Linked DNA regions of Homo sapiens: regions 1, 3, 4 and 5 are each linked to region 2. Evidence: promoter capture Hi-C in 16 types of primary human blood cells and fetal thymus (Javierre and others, 2016). All regions are on one chromosome and are shown on one strand. Each heading gives the region's core, a stretch centred on a gene start or on the middle of the fragment in contact. The rest is flanking DNA. Distances are from core to core; before and after follow the strand shown. Region 1 overlaps OLFM2 (olfactomedin 2). Region 2 holds the start of ICAM4 (intercellular adhesion molecule 4 (Landsteiner-Wiener blood group)). Region 3 has its middle 4.7 kb from the start of ILF3-DT. Region 4 overlaps ILF3 (interleukin enhancer binding factor 3). Region 5 has its middle 7.8 kb from the start of AP1M2.

What was found. Contacts are between HindIII fragments. The CHiCAGO score rates a contact against its expected background, and 5 or more counts as called.
Region 1: a contact is called between a fragment that was not itself captured here and the fragment with the promoter of ICAM4 in region 2, in 1 of 17 cell types (total B cells). The highest score is 6.7, in total B cells.
Region 3: a contact is called between a fragment that was not itself captured here and the fragment with the promoter of ICAM4 in region 2, in 1 of 17 cell types (M0 macrophages). The highest score is 6.8, in M0 macrophages.
Region 4: a contact is called between a fragment that was not itself captured here and the fragment with the promoter of ICAM4 in region 2, in 1 of 17 cell types (activated CD4 T cells). The highest score is 5.7, in activated CD4 T cells.
Region 5: a fragment that was not itself captured here is called in contact with the fragment with the promoter of ICAM4 in region 2 in 1 of 17 cell types (monocytes); the score reaches 5.5 in monocytes.

The regions. Positions count from the first base shown.
Region 1 is chr19:9,924,214-9,928,182 of GRCh38, forward strand. All of the region lies in intron 1 of OLFM2 (olfactomedin 2), which reads right to left. Among named protein-coding and RNA genes, the nearest start is that of OLFM2, 10 kb to the right of the region's middle. The HindIII fragment of the contact is 4,021 bases long and covers 599-3,969 here.
Region 2 is chr19:10,284,114-10,288,541 of GRCh38, forward strand. It overlaps ICAM4 (intercellular adhesion molecule 4 (Landsteiner-Wiener blood group)), which reads left to right and starts at 2,842. Exons shown (of 3, transcript NM_001544.5): 1 at 2,842-3,293; 2 at 3,423-3,725; 3 at 3,873-4,407. The coding sequence starts at 2,900. The coding sequence ends at 3,991. It overlaps ICAM1 (intercellular adhesion molecule 1), which reads left to right. Exons shown (of 7, transcript NM_000201.3): 4 at 1-207; 5 at 290-544; 6 at 670-915; 7 at 1,002-2,502. The coding sequence ends at 1,174. ICAM4-AS1 (ICAM4 antisense RNA 1) reads right to left here. Exons shown (of 1, transcript NR_186335.1): 1 at 1,688-4,428. RefSeq lists enhancers at 2,410-2,459, 2,514-3,483, 2,830-2,969. The HindIII fragment of the contact is 2,558 bases long and covers 2,487-4,428 here.
Region 3 is chr19:10,647,158-10,651,228 of GRCh38, forward strand. No RefSeq gene overlaps it. Among named protein-coding and RNA genes, the nearest start is that of ILF3-DT, 4.7 kb to the right of the region's middle. The HindIII fragment of the contact is 1,612 bases long and covers 1,213-2,824 here.
Region 4 is chr19:10,678,101-10,682,562 of GRCh38, forward strand. It overlaps ILF3 (interleukin enhancer binding factor 3), which reads left to right. Exons shown (of 20, transcript NM_017620.3): 6 at 513-604; 7 at 997-1,092; 8 at 1,716-1,827; 9 at 2,246-2,343; 10 at 2,919-3,030; 11 at 3,119-3,229; 12 at 3,893-4,092; 13 at 4,437-4,462. Among named protein-coding and RNA genes, the nearest start is that of QTRT1, 21 kb to the right of the region's middle. The HindIII fragment of the contact is 7,906 bases long and covers 1-4,462 here.
Region 5 is chr19:10,592,944-10,597,232 of GRCh38, forward strand. No RefSeq gene overlaps it. Among named protein-coding and RNA genes, the nearest start is that of AP1M2, 7.8 kb to the left of the region's middle. RefSeq lists enhancers at 1-174, 701-1,225, 2,700-2,889. The HindIII fragment of the contact is 3,363 bases long and covers 1,135-4,289 here.

The DNA.
Region 1 (3,969 bases), core at 1,359-3,858, 360 kb before region 2:
TCCTAACACGGTGAAACCCCGTCTCTACAAAAATACAAAAAAATTACCTGGGCGTGGTGGCGGGCGCCTGTAGTCCCAGCTATTCGGGAAGCTGAGGTAGGAGAATGGCGTGAACCCGGGAGGCGGAGCTTGCAGTGAGCCAAGATCACACCACTGCACTCCAGCCTGGGCGACAGAGCGAGACTCTGTCTCCAAAAAAAAAAAAAAAAAAAAAAAAAAATTGTTTTTGAAATGGAGGTCTCGCTCTGTCGCCCAGGCTGGTCTCGAACTCCTGGGCTGAAGCCATCCTTCCGCCTTGGCCACCCAAAGCACTGGGATTATGGGCGTGAGCCATTGCTCCCGGCCTGACAACATACTCAGTCACCCAACCCTGTTGAGGTCTAATAAGGAGACACTCTGCTTTCTTCCTCCAGCTCTGATACTACATGCAAGTGTCTTTTTTATGGTCCATTTAGTGCCAAGCTTTTCATATTTTTGTGCTGTTTGTTGGTGACTCTGCTATCTTCAGTGGCCCCCACGCACCGTGCTGAAGTGTAGTCTAGTGTTTCTAAGTCAAGAAGGCCGTGACGTGTGTCACGGAGAAAAGACGTGTTACAGAAGCTTCATTCAGGCATCAGATCTAGTGCTATTGGCCGGGAGTTCAATGTTAATGAATCAAAAAATAAATATATATGTGATATATATATATATATGCGTGTATATATATAGATATGATTGATATATATATATGATATTCTAAAACAGAAACACACATAAAACAAAGTTATGGCTGGGCGCCGTGGCTCATGCCTGTAATCCCAGCACTTTGGGAGGCTGAGGCAGGCAGATCGTTTGAGCCCAGGAGTTGGAGACCAGCCTGGGCAACATGGTGAAATCCTAGCTCTACAAAAAATTAGCCAGGCCTGGCGGTGCATAGTCCCAGCTACTCAGCGTGTTGGGAGGCTGAGGTGGGAGAATGGCTTGAGTCCGGAAGGCGGAGGCTGCAGTGAGCCTAGATCACACCACCGCACTCTAGCCTGGGGGACAGAGTGAGACCCTGTCTAAACAAAACAAAACAAAAAAAGTTATATATTATTCAGTTGACAAAAACGTTGTGGTCAGAGGCTTTTGACAAAAATAGCAAGTGTTGGTGAGGATGTGGAAAAATAGGAACCCTTTGTGGGAATGTAAAATAGCGCAGTCGCCGTAGAAAACATTATCGTAGTTCTTCAAAAACTTAAAACATAGTTACCATATGACCCAGCAATACTTTTTCTTTTTTGAGACAGGATCTTACCCTGTCACCCAGGCAATGGTACAATCATGGCGCACTGCAGCCTTGACCTCCTGGGCTCAAGTAATCCTCCCACCTCAGCCTCCCAAGTAGCTGGGACCACAGGCACAGCTAATTTTTGTATTTGTTGTAGAGACACGGTTTCACCATGTTGCTGAGGTTGGTCTCAAACTCCTGGGCTCAAGCAATCCACCCACCTCAGCCTCCCAATTGCTGGGATTACAGGTGTGAGCCACCGCGCCTGGCCCAGCAATGCCACTTCTGAATACGTACACAAAAGAATTGAACTCAGTGTCTCAAAAAGATATTGGTACACCCGTGATCATAGCAGTATTATTCAAAAAAGCCCAAAGGTGAAAACAACCAGGCCGGGCGCGGTGGCTCACACCTGTAATCCTAGCACTTTGGAAGGCTGAGGTGAGAGGATTGCTTCAGGCCAGGAGTTGAAGACCAGCTTGAGCAAGATGACAAGACCCCATCTCTACAGAAAAAATTTAAGAATTAGCCAGCCGTGGTGGCATGCACCTGTAGTCCCAGCTACTTGGGAGGCTGAGGTGGAAGGATCCCTGGAGCCCAGGAGATAGAGGTTGCAGCGAGCTGTGATGGTGCCACTGCACTCCAGCCTGAGTGATGGAGAGAGACCTCCTCTGTAACATTAAGACTTTTTTTTAAAAAAAAGCTGAAAACAACCCAGTGTCTATTTATTGATGAATGAATGGATAAACAAAATGTGGTATATCCATACATGGAATATGATTCAGCCTTTAAAAGGATGGAAATTCTAGGCCAGGCATGGTGGCTCACGCCTGTAATTCCAGCACTTTGGAAGGCTGAGGCGGGCGGATCACGAGGTCGGGAGATCGAGACCATCCTGGCTAACATGGTGAAACCCCATCTCTACTAAAAATACAAAAAATTAGCCGGGCGTGGTGGCGGCCGCCTGTAGTCCCAGCTATTCCGGAGGCTGAGATGGGAGAATCGCTTGAATCTGGGAGGCGGAGCTTGCAGTGAGCTGAGATCGCGCCACTGCACTCCAGCCTGGGACAGAGAGCGAGACTCCATCTCAAAAATAAATAAATAAATAAATAAATGACTAAAGTGATAAATTTTATATTATGTGTATTTTACCACAATTAAAAATTTTTAAAGTCTTCCATTTAAACATGCACAACCTCTTCTATGAGTCACTATTACCAGCTCACTAAATTCTAGGCCAAGTGCAGTGGCTCACGCCTGTAATCCCAGCAGTTTGGGAGGCTGAGGCAGGAAGATCTTATGAGCCCAGGAGTTCAAGACCGGCCTGGACAATATAGTGAGACCCTGTCACTACAAAAAATAAACAAAAAAAATTATGTGGGCATGGTGGCACACGCCTGTGGTCCCAGTGACTCAGGTGGCTGAGGTGGGAGGATTGCCTGAGCACAGGAGTTTGAGGCTGCAGTGAGCTGTGATCGCGTCACTGCACTCCAGCCTGGGCAACAGAGCAAGACTCTATCTCTAAAAATAAATAAATAAGGTCCAGCACGGTGGCTGACGCCTGTAATCCCAGCACTTTAGGAGGCCGAGGCAGGCAGATCACGAGGTCAGGAGTTTGAGACCAGCCTGGCCAACATGGTGAAATCCTGTCTCTACTAAAAATACAAAAATTAGCCAGGCGTGGTAGCACGCGCCTGTTAACCCAGTTCCTTGGGAGGCTGAGGTAGGAGAATTGCTTGAACCTGGGAGGGGAGGGTTGCAGTGAGCTGAGATCGCACCACTGCACTCCAGCCTGGGCGACAGAGCGAGGCTCTGTCTCGAAAAAAATATAAATAAATAAATGAATAAATAAATTCTAAAATCCTTAACCCAGCTTTCGAAGCCTTTACAGTCAGATCACAACCTTTTCAAGCTCACTTCCCTTCTCCTATCTGCACCCACCATAGGCATCAACCACACACTTACCCTAGTTCCCATTTCCAGAAACTTCCCCTCTTTTAAACATGGTTAGAATCATGTAAAATAAGGGTAAACCCACCAGGTCTTGTCAGCATGACCAATGACTTTCTTCTGTGTCCACCCTCCAGTCTTCACTCGCTCATCCTTCAAGGCCCATCTCAAATGCCACCTCCCCCAGGAAGCCCACTTGACTCTTGACATCTGGCACTTTGTACCATGTGTCGGCTGCATCTGTCTCCCAAATTTGGCAACTGACAGCCATTCAGAGCGGACTGTGTCACGTCCCTCCTGAGTGAGTGAGTGCCTCTATCAGTGTCTTTCTCATAGAAATTACTAGAGAAATTAGGAACAGAAACAATGTGGGCCGGGTGCAGTGACTCATGCCTGTAATCCCAGCACCTTGGGAGGCTGAGGCGGATCACTTGAGGTCAGGAGTTCGAGACCAGCCTGAACAATATTGTGAAACCCTGTCTCTACTAAAAATACAAAAATTAGCTGGGCCCTGTGGCTCATGCCTGTAATCCCAGCACCTTGGGAGGCTGAGGCAAGAGGATCACTTAAGGCCAAGAGTTCAAGACCAGCCTGGGCAACATAGTGAGACCCCCATCTCTACCAAAAAAAAGAAAAAGAAAGAGAAAAATTAGCTGGATGTAGTGGTACACACCTGTAGTCCTAACTATTTGAGAGGCTAAGGTAGGAGGATCACTTGGGCCAAGGAGGTTGAGGCTACAGTGGGCTGTGGTCACACCACTCCACTCTAG
Region 2 (4,428 bases), core at 1,592-4,091:
ACGGGCTGTTCCCAGTCTCGGAGGCCCAGGTCCACCTGGCACTGGGGGACCAGAGGTTGAACCCCACAGTCACCTATGGCAACGACTCCTTCTCGGCCAAGGCCTCAGTCAGTGTGACCGCAGAGGACGAGGGCACCCAGCGGCTGACGTGTGCAGTAATACTGGGGAACCAGAGCCAGGAGACACTGCAGACAGTGACCATCTACAGTAAGAAGGGGCAGGGGCGGAGTGGGGCTTCTTGGGGGTGTGACCTGAACCCGGGGCGGGGCTCACTGTGTGCCTATTCCAGGCTTTCCGGCGCCCAACGTGATTCTGACGAAGCCAGAGGTCTCAGAAGGGACCGAGGTGACAGTGAAGTGTGAGGCCCACCCTAGAGCCAAGGTGACGCTGAATGGGGTTCCAGCCCAGCCACTGGGCCCGAGGGCCCAGCTCCTGCTGAAGGCCACCCCAGAGGACAACGGGCGCAGCTTCTCCTGCTCTGCAACCCTGGAGGTGGCCGGCCAGCTTATACACAAGAACCAGACCCGGGAGCTTCGTGTCCTGTGTGAGTGGGGCTGCTGGTCAATGGCCCCTATCCCCCAAGGCCCAATCTCCCTGAAGGTCCCATAAGGTCTTGCCTCCAAGTCCTGCCCCCACCCACCTCCATGTCATCTCATCGTGTTTTTCCAGATGGCCCCCGACTGGACGAGAGGGATTGTCCGGGAAACTGGACGTGGCCAGAAAATTCCCAGCAGACTCCAATGTGCCAGGCTTGGGGGAACCCATTGCCCGAGCTCAAGTGTCTAAAGGATGGCACTTTCCCACTGCCCATCGGGGAATCAGTGACTGTCACTCGAGATCTTGAGGGCACCTACCTCTGTCGGGCCAGGAGCACTCAAGGGGAGGTCACCCGCAAGGTGACCGTGAATGTGCTCTGTGAGTGAGCCGGCGGGCAGAGCTGGGTGGGGGCAGGGGCCATGGACCTAATGCAATCCTCACCGCCTGTTGTATCCTCCCCACAGCCCCCCGGTATGAGATTGTCATCATCACTGTGGTAGCAGCCGCAGTCATAATGGGCACTGCAGGCCTCAGCACGTACCTCTATAACCGCCAGCGGAAGATCAAGAAATACAGACTACAACAGGCCCAAAAAGGGACCCCCATGAAACCGAACACACAAGCCACGCCTCCCTGAACCTATCCCGGGACAGGGCCTCTTCCTCGGCCTTCCCATATTGGTGGCAGTGGTGCCACACTGAACAGAGTGGAAGACATATGCCATGCAGCTACACCTACCGGCCCTGGGACGCCGGAGGACAGGGCATTGTCCTCAGTCAGATACAACAGCATTTGGGGCCATGGTACCTGCACACCTAAAACACTAGGCCACGCATCTGATCTGTAGTCACATGACTAAGCCAAGAGGAAGGAGCAAGACTCAAGACATGATTGATGGATGTTAAAGTCTAGCCTGATGAGAGGGGAAGTGGTGGGGGAGACATAGCCCCACCATGAGGACATACAACTGGGAAATACTGAAACTTGCTGCCTATTGGGTATGCTGAGGCCCCACAGACTTACAGAAGAAGTGGCCCTCCATAGACATGTGTAGCATCAAAACACAAAGGCCCACACTTCCTGACGGATGCCAGCTTGGGCACTGCTGTCTACTGACCCCAACCCTTGATGATATGTATTTATTCATTTGTTATTTTACCAGCTATTTATTGAGTGTCTTTTATGTAGGCTAAATGAACATAGGTCTCTGGCCTCACGGAGCTCCCAGTCCTAATCACATTCAAGGTCACCAGGTACAGTTGTACAGGTTGTACACTGCAGGAGAGTGCCTGGCAAAAAGATCAAATGGGGCTGGGACTTCTCATTGGCCAACCTGCCTTTCCCCAGAAGGAGTGATTTTTCTATCGGCACAAAAGCACTATATGGACTGGTAATGGTTACAGGTTCAGAGATTACCCAGTGAGGCCTTATTCCTCCCTTCCCCCCAAAACTGACACCTTTGTTAGCCACCTCCCCACCCACATACATTTCTGCCAGTGTTCACAATGACACTCAGCGGTCATGTCTGGACATGAGTGCCCAGGGAATATGCCCAAGCTATGCCTTGTCCTCTTGTCCTGTTTGCATTTCACTGGGAGCTTGCACTATGCAGCTCCAGTTTCCTGCAGTGATCAGGGTCCTGCAAGCAGTGGGGAAGGGGGCCAAGGTATTGGAGGACTCCCTCCCAGCTTTGGAAGCCTCATCCGCGTGTGTGTGTGTGTGTATGTGTAGACAAGCTCTCGCTCTGTCACCCAGGCTGGAGTGCAGTGGTGCAATCATGGTTCACTGCAGTCTTGACCTTTTGGGCTCAAGTGATCCTCCCACCTCAGCCTCCTGAGTAGCTGGGACCATAGGCTCACAACACCACACCTGGCAAATTTGATTTTTTTTTTTTTTCCAGAGACGGGGTCTCGCAACATTGCCCAGACTTCCTTTGTGTTAGTTAATAAAGCTTTCTCAACTGCCTCAGCCTTGTGTGAGTTGAGGGGAGGTGTCACATCCAGCTGGAGTCCTTTCTAAGCAGCCACAGCCTGATCCTCCCACTTCCTCCCCCAAGAAAACATTGTGGGTTGATGGCCATACCCTGAGGTTCTGGTCCAAATCGGACTTTCTATGACCTTCTGGGTCTCTAGTGAAAACTAAAGACTCCTCTCCAGAAAAAAACATTTGGTTTCTAATGAGGCCTGGAATCTTATTCTTGACCTGGGGAGCGGAATCCCTTTTTGCAGTACTCCCGGGCCCTCTGTTGGGGCCTCCCCTTCCTCTCCAGGGTGGAGTCGAGGAGGCGGGGCTGCGGGCCTCCTTATCTCTAGAGCCGGCCCTGGCTCTCTGGCGCGGGGCCCCTTAGTCCGGGCTTTTTGCCATGGGGTCTCTGTTCCCTCTGTCGCTGCTGTTTTTTTTGGCGGCCGCCTACCCGGGAGTTGGGAGCGCGCTGGGACGCCGGACTAAGCGGGCGCAAAGCCCCAAGGGTAGCCCTCTCGCGCCCTCCGGGACCTCAGTGCCCTTCTGGGTGCGCATGAGCCCGGAGTTCGTGGCTGTGCAGCCGGGGAAGTCAGTGCAGCTCAATTGCAGCAACAGCTGTCCCCAGCCGCAGAATTCCAGCCTCCGCACCCCGCTGCGGCAAGGCAAGACGCTCAGAGGGCCGGGTTGGGTGTCTTACCAGCTGCTCGACGTGAGGGCCTGGAGCTCCCTCGCGCACTGCCTCGTGACCTGCGCAGGAAAAACACGCTGGGCCACCTCCAGGATCACCGCCTACAGTGAGGGACAGGGGCTCGGTCCCGGCTGGGGTGAGGGGAGGGGGCTGGAAGAGGTGGGGGAAGGGTAGTTGACAGTCGCTCTATAGGGAGCGCCCGCGGACCTCACTCAGAGGCTCCCCCTTGCCTTAGAACCGCCCCACAGCGTGATTTTGGAGCCTCCGGTCTTAAAGGGCAGGAAATACACTTTGCGCTGCCACGTGACGCAGGTGTTCCCGGTGGGCTACTTGGTGGTGACCCTGAGGCATGGAAGCCGGGTCATCTATTCCGAAAGCCTGGAGCGCTTCACCGGCCTGGATCTGGCCAACGTGACCTTGACCTACGAGTTTGCTGCTGGACCCCGCGACTTCTGGCAGCCCGTGATCTGCCACGCGCGCCTCAATCTCGACGGCCTGGTGGTCCGCAACAGCTCGGCACCCATTACACTGATGCTCGGTGAGGCACCCCTGTAACCCTGGGGACTAGGAGGAAGGGGGCAGAGAGAGTTATGACCCCGAGAGGGCGCACAGACCAAGCGTGAGCTCCACGCGGGTCGACAGACCTCCCTGTGTTCCGTTCCTAATTCTCGCCTTCTGCTCCCAGCTTGGAGCCCCGCGCCCACAGCTTTGGCCTCCGGTTCCATCGCTGCCCTTGTAGGGATCCTCCTCACTGTGGGCGCTGCGTACCTATGCAAGTGCCTAGCTATGAAGTCCCAGGCGTAAAGGGGGATGTTCTATGCCGGCTGAGCGAGAAAAAGAGGAATATGAAACAATCTGGGGAAATGGCCATACATGGTGGCTGACGCCTGTAATCCCAGCACTTTGGGAGGCCGAGGCAGGAGAATCGCTTGAGCCCAGGAGTTCGAGACCAGCCTGGACAACATAGTGAGACCCCGTCTATGCAAAAAATACACAAATTAGCCTGGTGTGGTGGCCCGCACCTGTGGTCCCAGCTACCCGGGAGGCTGAGTTGGGAGGATCCTTTGAGCCCTGAAAGTCGAGGTTGCAGTGAGCCTTGATCGTGCCACTGCACTCCAGCCTGGGGGACAGAGCACGACCCTGTCTCCAAAAATAAAATAAAAATAAAAATAAATATTGGCGGGGGAACCCTCTGGAATCAATAAAGGCTTCCTTAACCAGCCTCTGTCCTGTGACCTAAG
Region 3 (4,071 bases), core at 769-3,268, 360 kb after region 2:
CTCCTGTCTTGACACTCCAAGACTTATACCAGTGATCCCTGGTTCTCAGGCCTTCGGCCTTGGACTGGGAATTACACCATTGGTGTCCCTGGCTCTGAAGCTTTAGGATTCAGACTGAGCCTCGCTACTGGCTTTGCAGGGTCTTCAGCTACTGGAGCTGCTGGCTTTTCAGGGTCTGCAGTCAATGCATGTGGTAGGACATCTCAGCCTCCATGATCACATGAGCCAATTATTCTGCTAAATCCCCTCTCATCTACCTACCTCCTATTAGCTTTCTCGGAGAAACCTAGTAATACACACATCATACATTTTCCTGGCCTTTTTTTTTTTTTTTTTTTTTTTTTGAGATGGAGTCTTGCTCTGTCACTCAGGCTGGAGTGCAGTGGCACGATCTAGGCTCACTGCAAGCTCCGCCTCCCGGGTTCACGCCATTCTCCTGCCTCAGCTCCTGAGTAGCTGGGACTACAGCTGCCCGCCACCACCCCCGGCTAATTTTTTTGTATTTTTCGTAGAGACAGGGTTTTACCATGTTAGCCAGGATGGTCTCGATCTCCTGACCTCATGATCCGCCTGCCTTGGCCTCCCAACGTGCTGGGATTACAGGCATGAGCCACCGCACGCAGCTACATTTTCCTGGCTTTAAGATGAGAAGTCTTCTCTTTTTTTGAGACGGAGTCTCGCTCTGTCGCCCAGCCTGGAGTGCAGTGGCATGATCTTGGCTCACTGCAACCTCCGCTTCCTGGGTTCAAGCAATTCTCTGCCTCAGCCTCCCGAGTAGCTGGGATTACAGGAGCCCGCCACCATGCCCGGCTAATTTTTGTATTTTTAGTAGAGATGGAGTTTCACCATCTTGGCCAGGCTGCTCTTGAACTCTTGAACTCTTGATCCACCCACCTCGGCCTCCCAAAGTGTTGGGATTAGAGGGCCAGAAAAGTCTTTTCTTGCTCCTAAGTCTCAGGCCTGGAGCTCACTGACTCTGACCAGCCTGATTATGATCATTTACTCATTGTAAATCATTGAGTCAATCATTGTAGTCAAGGTGTGGGCCTAGTTTGGGAGTCAGGCAGCAGGGACCTGCCATCTAGACTACAGTTTGATCAAGGGAGAGGAATGGTTCCCCAACAACTGTGGTCATCCCACAGTGTCCATCCCAGAGTGGTCACCCATGTCCACCCTGGGGGGGGGCAAGAAGGGAACAGGCATAGGACAAAAAGCTTTCGAGAGGGAAGTTAACTGGGTGTGATTGGGAGAGTGGGTGGAATCTTTCAAGATGAGGAAGACAATGAATAGAGAGGCTGTAAGGACAGCAGAGTCACTGAGAGTGACAGGACCTGTCTAGACTGACAGATTACAAGAGGGGGATGACCTCAATCTTCAACCAATGAGTGGGAGGGAGGGAAGAGAGAAGGAATAGCCAGATGACAGATGATGTCACTAAGGCAAGGAGGAGAGAATGGTGTTGTATACAGGGTTTGTGACCACTGAGTGGTGGAAGGACAAGGGCAGAGGTGCGAGGTCGGGTCAGGGTAGCAGTTCAGCAAGACAGGGCAGATGGCATCTTGTGTCTTCCATCCTTTACGGTGACCAGGGACTAGGAACCTGATGGATGGGGTTTATTGGAAAGTTGGGCTGAAAACTTTTTACTTCAAAAAATTTTTTTCTTTTTCCTTTTTTTTTTTTTTTGAGACGAAGTCTCACTCTTGTCCCCCAGTCTGGAGTGCAATGGTGCAATCTCAGCTCACTGCAACCTCCGCTTCCTGGGTTCAAGTGATTCTCCTGCCTCAGCCTCCCGAGTAGCTGGGATTACAGGTGCGTACCACCACGCCCAGCTAATTTTTTATATTTTAAGGAGAGATGGGGTTTCACCATGTTGGCCAGGCTGGTCTCGAACTCCTGACCTCAAGTGATCCACCCGCCTCGGCCTCCCAAAGTGCTAGGATTAGAGGGTGAACCACCACACCTGGCCCTTTCTTTTTTTTTTTAGACACAGTCTCCCTGTCACCCAGGCTGGACTGTAGTGGCTTGATCTCGGCTCACTGCAACCTCCACCTCCCAGGTTCAAGCGATTCTCGTGCCTCAGCCTCCCGAGTAGCTGGAATTACAGATGCCAGCCATCATGCCCAGCTACTTTTTGTACTTTTAGTAAAGACAGAGTTTCACCATGTTGGCCAGGGTGGTCTTGAACTCCTGACCTCAAGTGATCCACCAATCTCGGCCTCCCAATGTGCTAGGATTACAAGTATGAGCCACTGCCCCCAGCCTTCTTTTTGTTTTTATTCTTGAAAACTTTTTTTTTTTTTAATGTAGAGATGGGGCTGGGTGCAGTAGCTCATGCCTGTAATCCCAGCACTTTGGGAAGCCAAGGTGGGTGGATAACTTGAGGTCAGGAGTTTGAGACCAGCCTGGCCAACATGGCAAAACCCAGTCTCTACTAAAAATACAACAATTAGCTGACCATGGTGGTGTACGCCTGCAATCCCAGTGACTTGGGAGGCTAAGGCAGAATTGCTTAAACTCGGGAATTGGAGGTTGCAGTAAGCTGAGATTGTTATCACTGCACCCTAGCTGGGACTACAGAACGAGACTCCATCTCAAAAATAAATAAATAGATAGATAGATAAAAAACATAGAGATGGGGTCTCACTATGTTGCCCAGACTGGTCTTGAACTTCTGGGCTCAAGCAATCCCCCTGCCTCAGCCTCCCAAAGTGTAGGATTACAGGCATGAGCCAGCATGCCTGGCCAAGACAACATTTTTCAGGAAGTTCTGGTTGGATGGGGCACCCGTTCAAGAGGTAACAATCATAACCATTACTGTTTTTGAAGCTTTAACTCCATGCCAGGTACTGAAGCAACCCCTTGATGTTGAATTAACTCCGAATCAGTCCTCCTCCAAATCAAACCCTAGGAGGTTTGGGTTTGATCCAAAGACTGTGCTTGTCATCATGACCCTATCCGCCCTTTACTGTGTTTGGGGTCCCTGGGGCAAGAAACGCCTTAGCGGAATGAGATCTTCAAAAGCGTTTTAAGTAACCTTAGGCTCTCTGGAGTTGGGAGTCAGAAAACTAGTAACCATCCTCGTTCTGCCATTTGGCAGTGCTGTTAGCTCAAGCAAGTCACTAAAACTGACCTGTTCCGAAAAAAAGCCAGTCTAGGCTTTGTTATTAACATTCGTTATTATCACAGTGACCTTCAACAATTTAAAGCTTTAACCAATTTTTTGGTTTTGTTTTTGTTTTTTTGAGACAGGGCTTCTGTTGCCTAGGCTAGAGAGCAGTGGCCCAATCTCAGTTCACTGCAGCCTCAACCTCCTGGGCTCAAATGATCCTCCCACCTCAGCCTCCTGAGTAGCTGGGACTACAGGTGTGTTCCACCATGCCCTGGCATTTTAACCAATTTTATCTTAGTGCATGCCCCAATCATCTTACCAAACCTTTCTTCAATTTCCAGCTCTATTTGTGAGACAGATCTGAGGCACAGGAAATGAAATTAAAAAGCCTGGTGCAGAATAACTTATCAATTTATGTGAAAAACAAGAATATGATTATGCACCTCTGAAAATAAAACTCTACTGTAGTTACACAAAAAACTGTACAATGGCTGGTCGCGGTGGCTCACGCATATAATCCTAGCACTTTGGGAGGCCGAGGCGGGTGGATCACGAGGTCAGGAGATCGAGACCATCCTGACTCACCCGGTGAAACCCAGTCTCTACTAAAAATACAAAACATTAGCCGGGCGTGGTGGTGGGCGCCTGTAGTCTCAGCTACTCGGGAGGCTGAGGCAGGAGAATGGCGTGAACCCAGGAGGCGGAGCTTGCAGTGAGCCAAGATCGTGCCACTGCACTCCAGCCTGGGAGACAGAGCAAGACTCCGTTTCAAAAACAAAAAACAAAAAACAAAACTGTACAATGGCTTCTAAGAGGGAGGGAACTGGATGTCTGAGGAAGACTTTGTGCTCTCATGTCTTTGGCACTTTTTTTTTTTTTTGAGATGGAGTCTCACTCTGTCGCCCAGACTGGAGTGCAATGGCACGATCTCAGCTCACTGCAACCTCTGCCTCCCGAGTTCA
Region 4 (4,462 bases), core at 148-2,647, 390 kb after region 2:
CAGTCCCGCCTGGTGGGCGGAGTTGGTCCCCTTTGCTGCAGATGCCTTGGGATGGCTGTTGTGTGATGCAGAGAGGGAGTTCATTTCCTCTCCCTCGGCCTTTTTAAATTTTTTCCTATTGAACATTTTAGCATAGCTAATTTATTGGGAGAACATGGGGAGGAGGCAAGGGAAGAGGATTAGAAGATAGGCTCCACCTATCTCTCCCCTCCCTCATGAGATTATTCCTTTTAGAATAACTCCCCACTTTTGTTTTTATGTTTGTTTTATTTTTTCTTTTTCTTTCTTTTTTCTTTTTCTTTTTATTTTTGGAGGGGGCCTCCAATTTTTACAATTTCCTCACAGGGCAGAGTTGAATGTGCTCTAGTTTCTCCTTCCCTGGTCCAGGGTGGAGATGAATTCAGCTTCTGGGAAACTCAGCTGCCCTTTAGAAAGCTGCCACATCCCCTTTCCACCTGACAGAAACCCCTTGGTCAAACTGTGCCTTGTCTTCTTATTCCATCCATGAATAGAAACGCTATCAGTCAACGACCCCCCGGACGTTCTGGACAGGCAGAAATGCCTTGCTGCCTTGGCGTCCCTCCGACACGCCAAGTGGTTCCAGGTTTGCATTTTGTTCTTCTATTTGTCTTTTGGTAGAGAATTCCTAAGTTTTAACTTGGCTAACTGTCACCATAAAGATTCCTTAACATTGACGATAGCCGTGCCGAGCTTAGCACCTGCAGCTGCGCAGGTCCTAAAGGAGTGCACCTCAACAAATTCGACCCCAAAAGAGGCTGAGACTGAGTTGGTGGGCTGCTGCTGCTGCTGCTGCTTTGTGTTAAGAGTAACACTCTCTTGTACACGTAGTGACATTGCGGCTGGCCACAGCCTTGGTGGTCGCCAGTGTTGACTGTTTACCCTTGGCAAAGCAGCAACCTGACACTTGTGTCGTTCATGTTGACTTGTGCCCTGGGCGGTGCCTCAGACTGAAGAGCCTGTGTTTTGTTCCCCTAGGCCAGAGCCAACGGGCTGAAGTCTTGTGTCATTGTGATCCGGGTCTTGAGGGACCTGTGCACTCGCGTGCCCACCTGGGGTCCCCTCCGAGGCTGGGTAAGGCATGTTGCTGTGGCTACTGGGGGTGGTGTGTGCAGAGTCTTTTGGATATCCCAGGAACACTTGATGGTCACGGGGCAGGAGTGGCCTCTTGACGCGTGGCTGGTGTGTACTCTCCAGAGCTGCCTGTGGAGCTGCTCCTGCTTGCCACACCTGGGGTTGGGGTTGGGGCAGTGTGGGTCGGGGCCCTCTGCAGGGTCGCACAGCTCAATCCCAGGAGTGGGGGCTGACCAGGAGGTGGGAATGATCCCTCTGGGAAGGTTTGTAGATAGTCTCACGCAGGACCAGTTTTTGGCAGTTGCACCCTTTTTTTTTTCAGCTTGCAGTTGAGGTGGTTTTTATATTTGTAAATAAATGGTTAGATTTTAAGTAAGAAGTACTACATCATAACCTTAGCTTGGTCTCTGAGCTCACACAGCCTGCTAGGATGTCATGTCTGGTCCTTGAAGGCCCCTGTCCTAGATGCCCTGGCTCAGGCTTAGCCCTGAGGCTTTGACTTTACCCGACTGGTTGGCTATGAGTCCCACGTGTGCCCCGACCCACTCATGCAGTGACAGCTCCCCAGTGGCGGCCGGCCCCATCCTGTAGGCTCTTGGCTCACTGTCCCTCTTCCCTTTCAGCCTCTCGAGCTCCTGTGTGAGAAATCCATTGGCACGGCCAACAGACCGATGGGTGCTGGCGAGGCCCTGCGGAGAGTGCTGGAGTGCCTGGCGTCGGGCATCGTGATGCCAGGTTGGGGCCTTGTGCTTTGCAGGTTGCAGGGAAAGGACAGGGTTCCAGGCCGCCTCCTGGCGGGTACACTGACTGGGTTAGGACAGCAGCAGCCCCGTGTCCACCCCCTAGAGCTGAAGCATGTGACTACCCTCTGGCACCATCATATCCAGCCCTGACCGGGTCCGCAGCCGTCATTCAGAGGGCGGATCCGGGGCAGTGGTGACCCACTCCCACGTGACTTTCTTGCTCTGAGACACTTGTGAATTATTTCTGTCAAGGGCTGGACGCCGAGTGGGTCACCGAGCTAGGCATGTTTTCCAGAGCTGGGTGTGGATGGGGCGCGGGGGGTAACACACCTAGTTCCCTCAGCCAGCACACCTCTTCAGAGATGCTAAAAGATAATCCTCTGCATATCTTCCTTGTTTCCTGCCTTCAGATGGTTCTGGCATTTATGACCCTTGTGAAAAAGAAGCCACTGATGCTATTGGGCATCTAGACAGACAGCAACGGGAAGATATCACACAGAGTGCGCAGGTATAGTCATCGCCATTGCCAACGTGCGCCCTGACCCAGTCTGTAATCACTGGCTTCCAGTTCCATTACTGGGTATTCCCAGGGTAGCCCCTGGACTCGTAGGCTCAGGTCGGGGACTGAAGGCAAAAGGATTGTGTCTGATACAGGGCGCCCCAATCTGGGCTGCTTCTTTCCCCTGGTGCCATGCGTGGTTTTCATCTGCCCCCTCCCTTGGCTTGCTCGAGTGCCGTTTTCAGACACTGTGAGTGGTGCTGGGAGATGTGTTTGCTGTGCGGACTGCTCCGGGGGGACCTTCCCCTGCAGGCCCCCACATGGCTCCGTGTGGCAACCAGTCCCCAGGTTGGGGTCTCCTGTATTCCTTTGGAAGGGGGGTGGTCACAGGCTGGCCTTCCCCCACAGCAAGGCTGGGCTTGAGCAGTCAGGCTCTCCCCTGGCTGGTGGGGGACCCCTTGCTGTCGTAAGGGAGACCATTAGCAGCCCTTCAGCTCTGCCCCTCCTCAGAAGGCAGTAGTGAGCACACACTCCATGGCCGGGAGCACAGGGCAGCTGAGTCAGAGCCTCTTCCCCTTCTCCAGCACGCACTGCGGCTCGCTGCCTTCGGCCAGCTCCATAAAGTCCTAGGCATGGACCCTCTGCCTTCCAAGATGCCCAAGAAACCAAAGAATGAAAACCCAGTGGACTACACCGGTAAGCCTGCGGCGGTTGCCTGATGGCTGGGGCTCCAGGAAGAGTCACCATCTGCATCTCCCAGCCATGCCCTGGTCTCTCCTTGCAGTTCAGATCCCACCAAGCACCACCTATGCCATTACGCCCATGAAACGCCCAATGGAGGAGGACGGGGAGGAGAAGTCGCCCAGCAAAAAGAAGAAGAAGATTCAGAAGAAAGGTACAGGCCGGGCGCGGTGGCTCACGCCTGTAATCCCAGCACTTTGGGAGGCCGAGGCGGGAGAATCGCTTGAGCTCAGGAGTTTTGAGACCATCAGCCTGGGCAACATGGCGAAACCCCGTCTCTACAAAAAATACAAAAATTAGCTGGGTGTGGTGGCGCACCTGTAGTGCCAGCTACTTGGGAGGCTGAGATGGGAGGATGGCTTGAGCCTGGGAGGCGGAGGTTGCAGTGAGCAACTGTACTCCAGCCTGGGCAACAGAGCGAGACCTTGCTTAAAATCAGTGTTGAAAAATTTTAGAAGCTAAATAGGTAAAAAAGCAGGAAGGTGCAGACCTCCACTAGTGCTGCTGCTTTATCCATCTGGTCCTGTGAAGGCTCACCCTGAAGCTATGGGATGGCTGCTTTTGTTTCATTTTTCTCACTTGTGATTTCTGAGTCCTTTTAACAATGATGAGGCATGATTGGGGATGTGGAAGATGAGTAGGATGGTGGTGCTACAGCTGGAGGCCACAGGAGAGGTGCAAGCTGGGCTCAGTTTGTGTGGCTGCCCCACCCACTGTGTTACGCCACAGAGGCAGCCCTGGGGGTTAGGATTGGCAGAGCTCTCGTGGAGACCTGCCATCGTGCTGATCCAGAGCCACCTTGCTATTCTCTCTGTAGAGGAGAAGGCAGAGCCCCCCCAGGCTATGAATGCCCTGATGCGGTTGAACCAGCTGAAGCCAGGGCTGCAGTACAAGCTGGTGTCCCAGACTGGGCCCGTCCATGCCCCCATCTTTACCATGTCTGTGGAGGTTGATGGCAATTCATTCGAGGCCTCTGGGCCCTCCAAAAAGACGGCCAAGCTGCACGTGGCCGTTAAGGTGAGTGTGGCCAGCATCACTGTCTTCTAATAGCAGAACCATGGTCTTTGTTTTGGGCCCCTTCTGAGCCATTGTCTCTCAGGGAGGGCATGTAGATTCTAAAAATACACATGGTTAGATGGCGAGTATTTGCCAAGTCACGTGGCAAGAACGCCTTCCCACTGTGGCTGGCAGGCAGAGGGGTCCCCAAACATGATTGGGGCATTAGGGCCTCCTGGGAGCAGGAGCTGAAAGGAAACAGCCCTCCTCCAGATGGCTTCCCGGGTGGGTGCCTGTAGGCCATGAGGAGGCCCTGCATGCAGCCCTGCTTCACTGGGACCTTGGGGGTCTTGCCACCTCTGCAGGTGTTACAGGACATGGGCTTGCCGAC
Region 5 (4,289 bases), core at 1,566-4,065, 310 kb after region 2:
TACCCTCCGCCTCCCAGGTTCAAGTGATTCTCCTGCCTCAGCCTCCCAAGTAGCTGGGATTACAGGCATGCACCACCATGCCTGGCTAATTTTGTATTTTTAGTACAGACAAGGTTTCTCCATGTTGGTCAGGCTGGTCTCAAACTCCCGACCTCAGGTGATCCACCCACCTCAGCCTCCCAAAGTGCTGGGATTACAGGGGTGAGCCATCGCACCTGGCCCTGATTATTATTATTATTATTATTATTATTTTTGAGGCAGGGTCTCTGTCACCCAGGCTGGAGTGCAGTGGTGTGATCTCAGCTCACTGCAACCTCCACCTCCCCAGGTTCAAGCAATCAAGCAATTCTCCCACCCCAGCCTCCTGCACAGCTGGGACCACAGGTGCGTGACCACCACATCCAGCTAATTTTTATACTTTTTGGTACAGACAGGTTTCACAATGTCGCCCAGGCTGGTCTCCAACTTGTGGACTTAAGTGGTCCACCCGCCTCGGCCTCCCACAGTGCTGGGATTATAGGCGTGAGCCATCTCGCCCAGCCTAAAGCCCAAGACTTTATGTTGCTTCTGCCCAAAGGAGGGGGGTGGTCCTTCATGCTCCCAGCAACTGCCTGCTGAGAAGGTCACCTAGGGGGATGCAGTCACTGCTAGGCCCTCACCCCAGCCTAGACATTGCTGAACCTCAAAATAACTCGTCTCCTGGCAGCCGGGCGTGGTGGCTCACGCCTGTAATCCTAGCACTTCGGGAGGCTGAGGTGGGTGGATCACCTGAGGTCAGGAGTTTGAGACCAGCCTGGCCAAAATGGTGAAACCCTGTCTGGACTAAAAATACAGAATTAGCCGGGGGTGGTAGCACATGCCTGTAATCCCACCTACTCAGGAGACTGAGGCAGGAGAATCACTTGAAACTGGGAGGCAGAGGTTGCAGTGAGCCAAGATTGCGCCATTGCACTCCAGCCTGGGGCAATAGAGTGAGACTCTGTCTCAAAAACAACAACAACAACAAAATGAAGAACTCATCTCCTGGGGCCCTGAGATGTTTTCAGGCAGTAAGCAGAACCCGAAAGCCTGGGCCCAGTGCCCTGGAATCTGAAACTCCAGGCTTGTTTGGCATGAAAAATTCATGAGCCCAAAAGCTTACTTGGGGTCAGAGAACAGAGCAGCTCTGTGTGCTGGCTCTGCCTGCCCCGCCTGCCCCACCTCAGTGGCGGCCTCCCCCATCCCCCTGAGGCTGTGGCCTTGTCCTAGTTCCTTCTGGATGCCTGGAGCCTCCTCCAGCCTCTCCCAGGGACCACGCCTCTAGGCCCTGTCCACAATCCCTTCTCCACACCACTAAAGAGATCTCTCTGAAACTCACAATTATTTTTTGACTCTCACTCTCACATCCTCTATGGCCCCCCATTGCCCTCCAACCACCCCCACCTGGCACAGTCAGACACCTGCTGACCTCTGCCACAGGACACCACCTGAACCTGCTGTCCCAGACACCCTAACTGCCCGAATTTCAGTTCCTCTCCTGCTGTCTCAAGCCATCCTCCCACCTCAGCCTCCCAAGTAGCTGAGACTATAGACACGTGCCACCACAGCTGGCCACCTTAGCCATTTTGAAGTGCACAGTTCGGTGGCATTAAGCACATTAATGGCCATGCAACCGTCACCACCATCCATCTCCAGAACTTTCTCATCTTCCCAAAGGAAAACTTCTCCCTATGAAACACTCCTTCTCCCTCTCCCAACCCCTGGCACCCACTCTTCTTCTTCTTCTTCTTCTCCTTTTCCTTCTCCTCCTCCTCCTTCTTCTTCTTCTTTTCTTTTTTTTATTTATTTTGAGATGGAGTCTCACCGTCACCGAGGCTTGAGTGCAGTGGCACAATCTCGGCTCACTGCAGCCTCCATCTCCTAGGTTCAAGCAGTTCTCCTGCCTCAGCCTCCTGAGTAGCTGGGATTACAGGCGCCCCCCACCACGCCCAGCTAATTTTATTTTTTTATATTTTATTTATTCATTTACTTTTATTATTTTATTATTATTTTTTTTTGAGACAGAGTCTCGCTCTGTTGCCCAGGCTGGAGTGCAGTGGCACGATCTCAGCTCCCTGCAAGCTCTGCCTCCCGGGTTCATGCCATTCTCCTGCCTCAGCCTCCCGAGTAGCTGGGACTACAGGTGCCTGCCACCACACCCGGCTAATTTTTGTATTTTTAGTAGAGGCAGGGTTTCGCCATATTGGCCAGGCTGGTCTCTTGGCCAAGCTGGTCTGGAACTCCTGACCTGGAGATGTGCCTGCCTCAGCCTCCCAAAGTGCTGGGATTATAGGCGTGAGCCGCCGCGCCCAGCTTTTTTTTCTTTTTTTTTTGAGACGGATTCTCACTTTGTCGCCCAGGGGCTGGAGTGCAGTGGCGCAATCTCAGCTAATTGCAACCTCCTCCTTCTCCTAGTTCAAGTGATTCTCCTGCCTCAGCCTCCCAAGTAGCTGGGATTACAGGCATCTGCCACCACGCTGGGCTAATTTTTGTATTTTTGGTAGAGACTGGGTTTCGCCATGTTGACTAGGCTGGTCTCAAACTCCTGACCTCAAGTGATCCACCCATCTCAGCCTCCCAATGTGCTGGGATTACAAGTGTAAGCCACCATGCCCAGCTACTCAGGAGTCTGAGGTGGGAGGATCACTGGAGCCCAGAAGATTGAGGCTGCAGTGAGCTATGGTTGCACCACTGCACTCCAGCCTCGGTGACAAAGCAAGAACCTATCTTAAGAAAATACTGTGCTGAGCCAGTTCCTGAGAAAACAAAATAGAAAACAAAACTAAAGAAAAGGCAAAAGTTCCTCCCAGCAGAGATGTGAGAGAAAAAGAAAAAAAAAGTCCCCTGTGACACCCCCATACCCCAATCTTCGTCCCTCTCATAACCACTGGCTGATTCAGATCTTTTTCAGCTGGGTTACATGCAGGGGGGTGTGTGTGTGTGTTTGTGTGTGTGTGTGTGTGTGTGTGTGTGTGTGCGCGTGTTGCCCTCTTTCTCTCTCTTTCTCCCATACCATATAAGACTATACAACTTGTGGATGGGCACAGTGGCTCTCACCTGTAATCCCAGAACTTTGGGAGGCAGAGGCGGGTGGGGCACTTGAGGCCAAGAGTTCAAGAGCAGCCTGGGCAACATGGCAAAAAATCTGTCTCTACTAAAAATATAAAAACTGGCCAGGTGTGGTGGCTCACGCCTGTAATCCCTGCACTTTGGAGGCTAAGGCAGGTGAATCACCTGAGGTCAGGAGTTTGAGACAAGCCTGGCCAACATGATAAAATCCTGTCTCTACTAAAAATACAAAAAATTAGCCAGGTATGCTGGCGGACACCTGTAATCCCAGCTACTCGGGAGGCTGAGGCAGGAGAATTGCTTGAACCCAGGAGGCAGAGGTTGCAGTGAGCCGAGATCATGCCACTGCACTCGAGCCTGGGTGACAGAACAAGAATCTGTCTCAAAAACAAAACAAAACAAAACAAACAAGCAACAACAACTATATATATATATATATATATGTATATAGACTAAGCTGGGCATGGTGGTGCGTACCTGAAATCCCAGCTACTCCAGAGGCTGAGGCACACAAATCACTTGAACCCAAGAGAAGGAGGTTTCAGTGAGCTGAGCTCGCACCACTGCACTCCAGCCTGGGCGACAGAGAGAGACTCTGTCTTAAATAAAAAAAAAAAAATACAACTTGCTATTATCACTCAACAATATGACCTGGACGCTACTCCGGAAAGCATGTGGTTGAAGGGGAAGGAAGTGTGTCTTGGGTGTAAAGTCGGACTCCCTGGGTTCAGATCCTTGCAGAGCCACGGGCTCATTATGTTACTGTGGGTAAATTACTTCACCTCTCTGGGTCACTTTCCCCAATTGGAAAATGATTATAATGATTTAATACAGAGTGCTTGGGCCAGACGCGGTGTCTCACGCCTGTAATCCCAGCACTTTGGGAGGCCGAGGCGGTGGATCATGAGGTCAGGAGATTGACACCATCATGGCTAAGACAGTGAAACCCGTTCTTCACTAAAAATACAAAAAACTAGCTGAGCGTGGTGGTGGGTGCTGTAATCCCAGCTACTCAGAAGGCTGAGGCAGGAGAATTGCTTGAACCCGGGAGGCAGATGGTGCAGTGAGCTGAGATCACGCCACTGCACTCCAGCTTGGCGACAGAGTGAGACTCCATCTCAAAAACTAAAACAAACAACAACAACTATATACACACACACACACACACATACACACACAGAGAGCACTTTACTGGGTGAGCC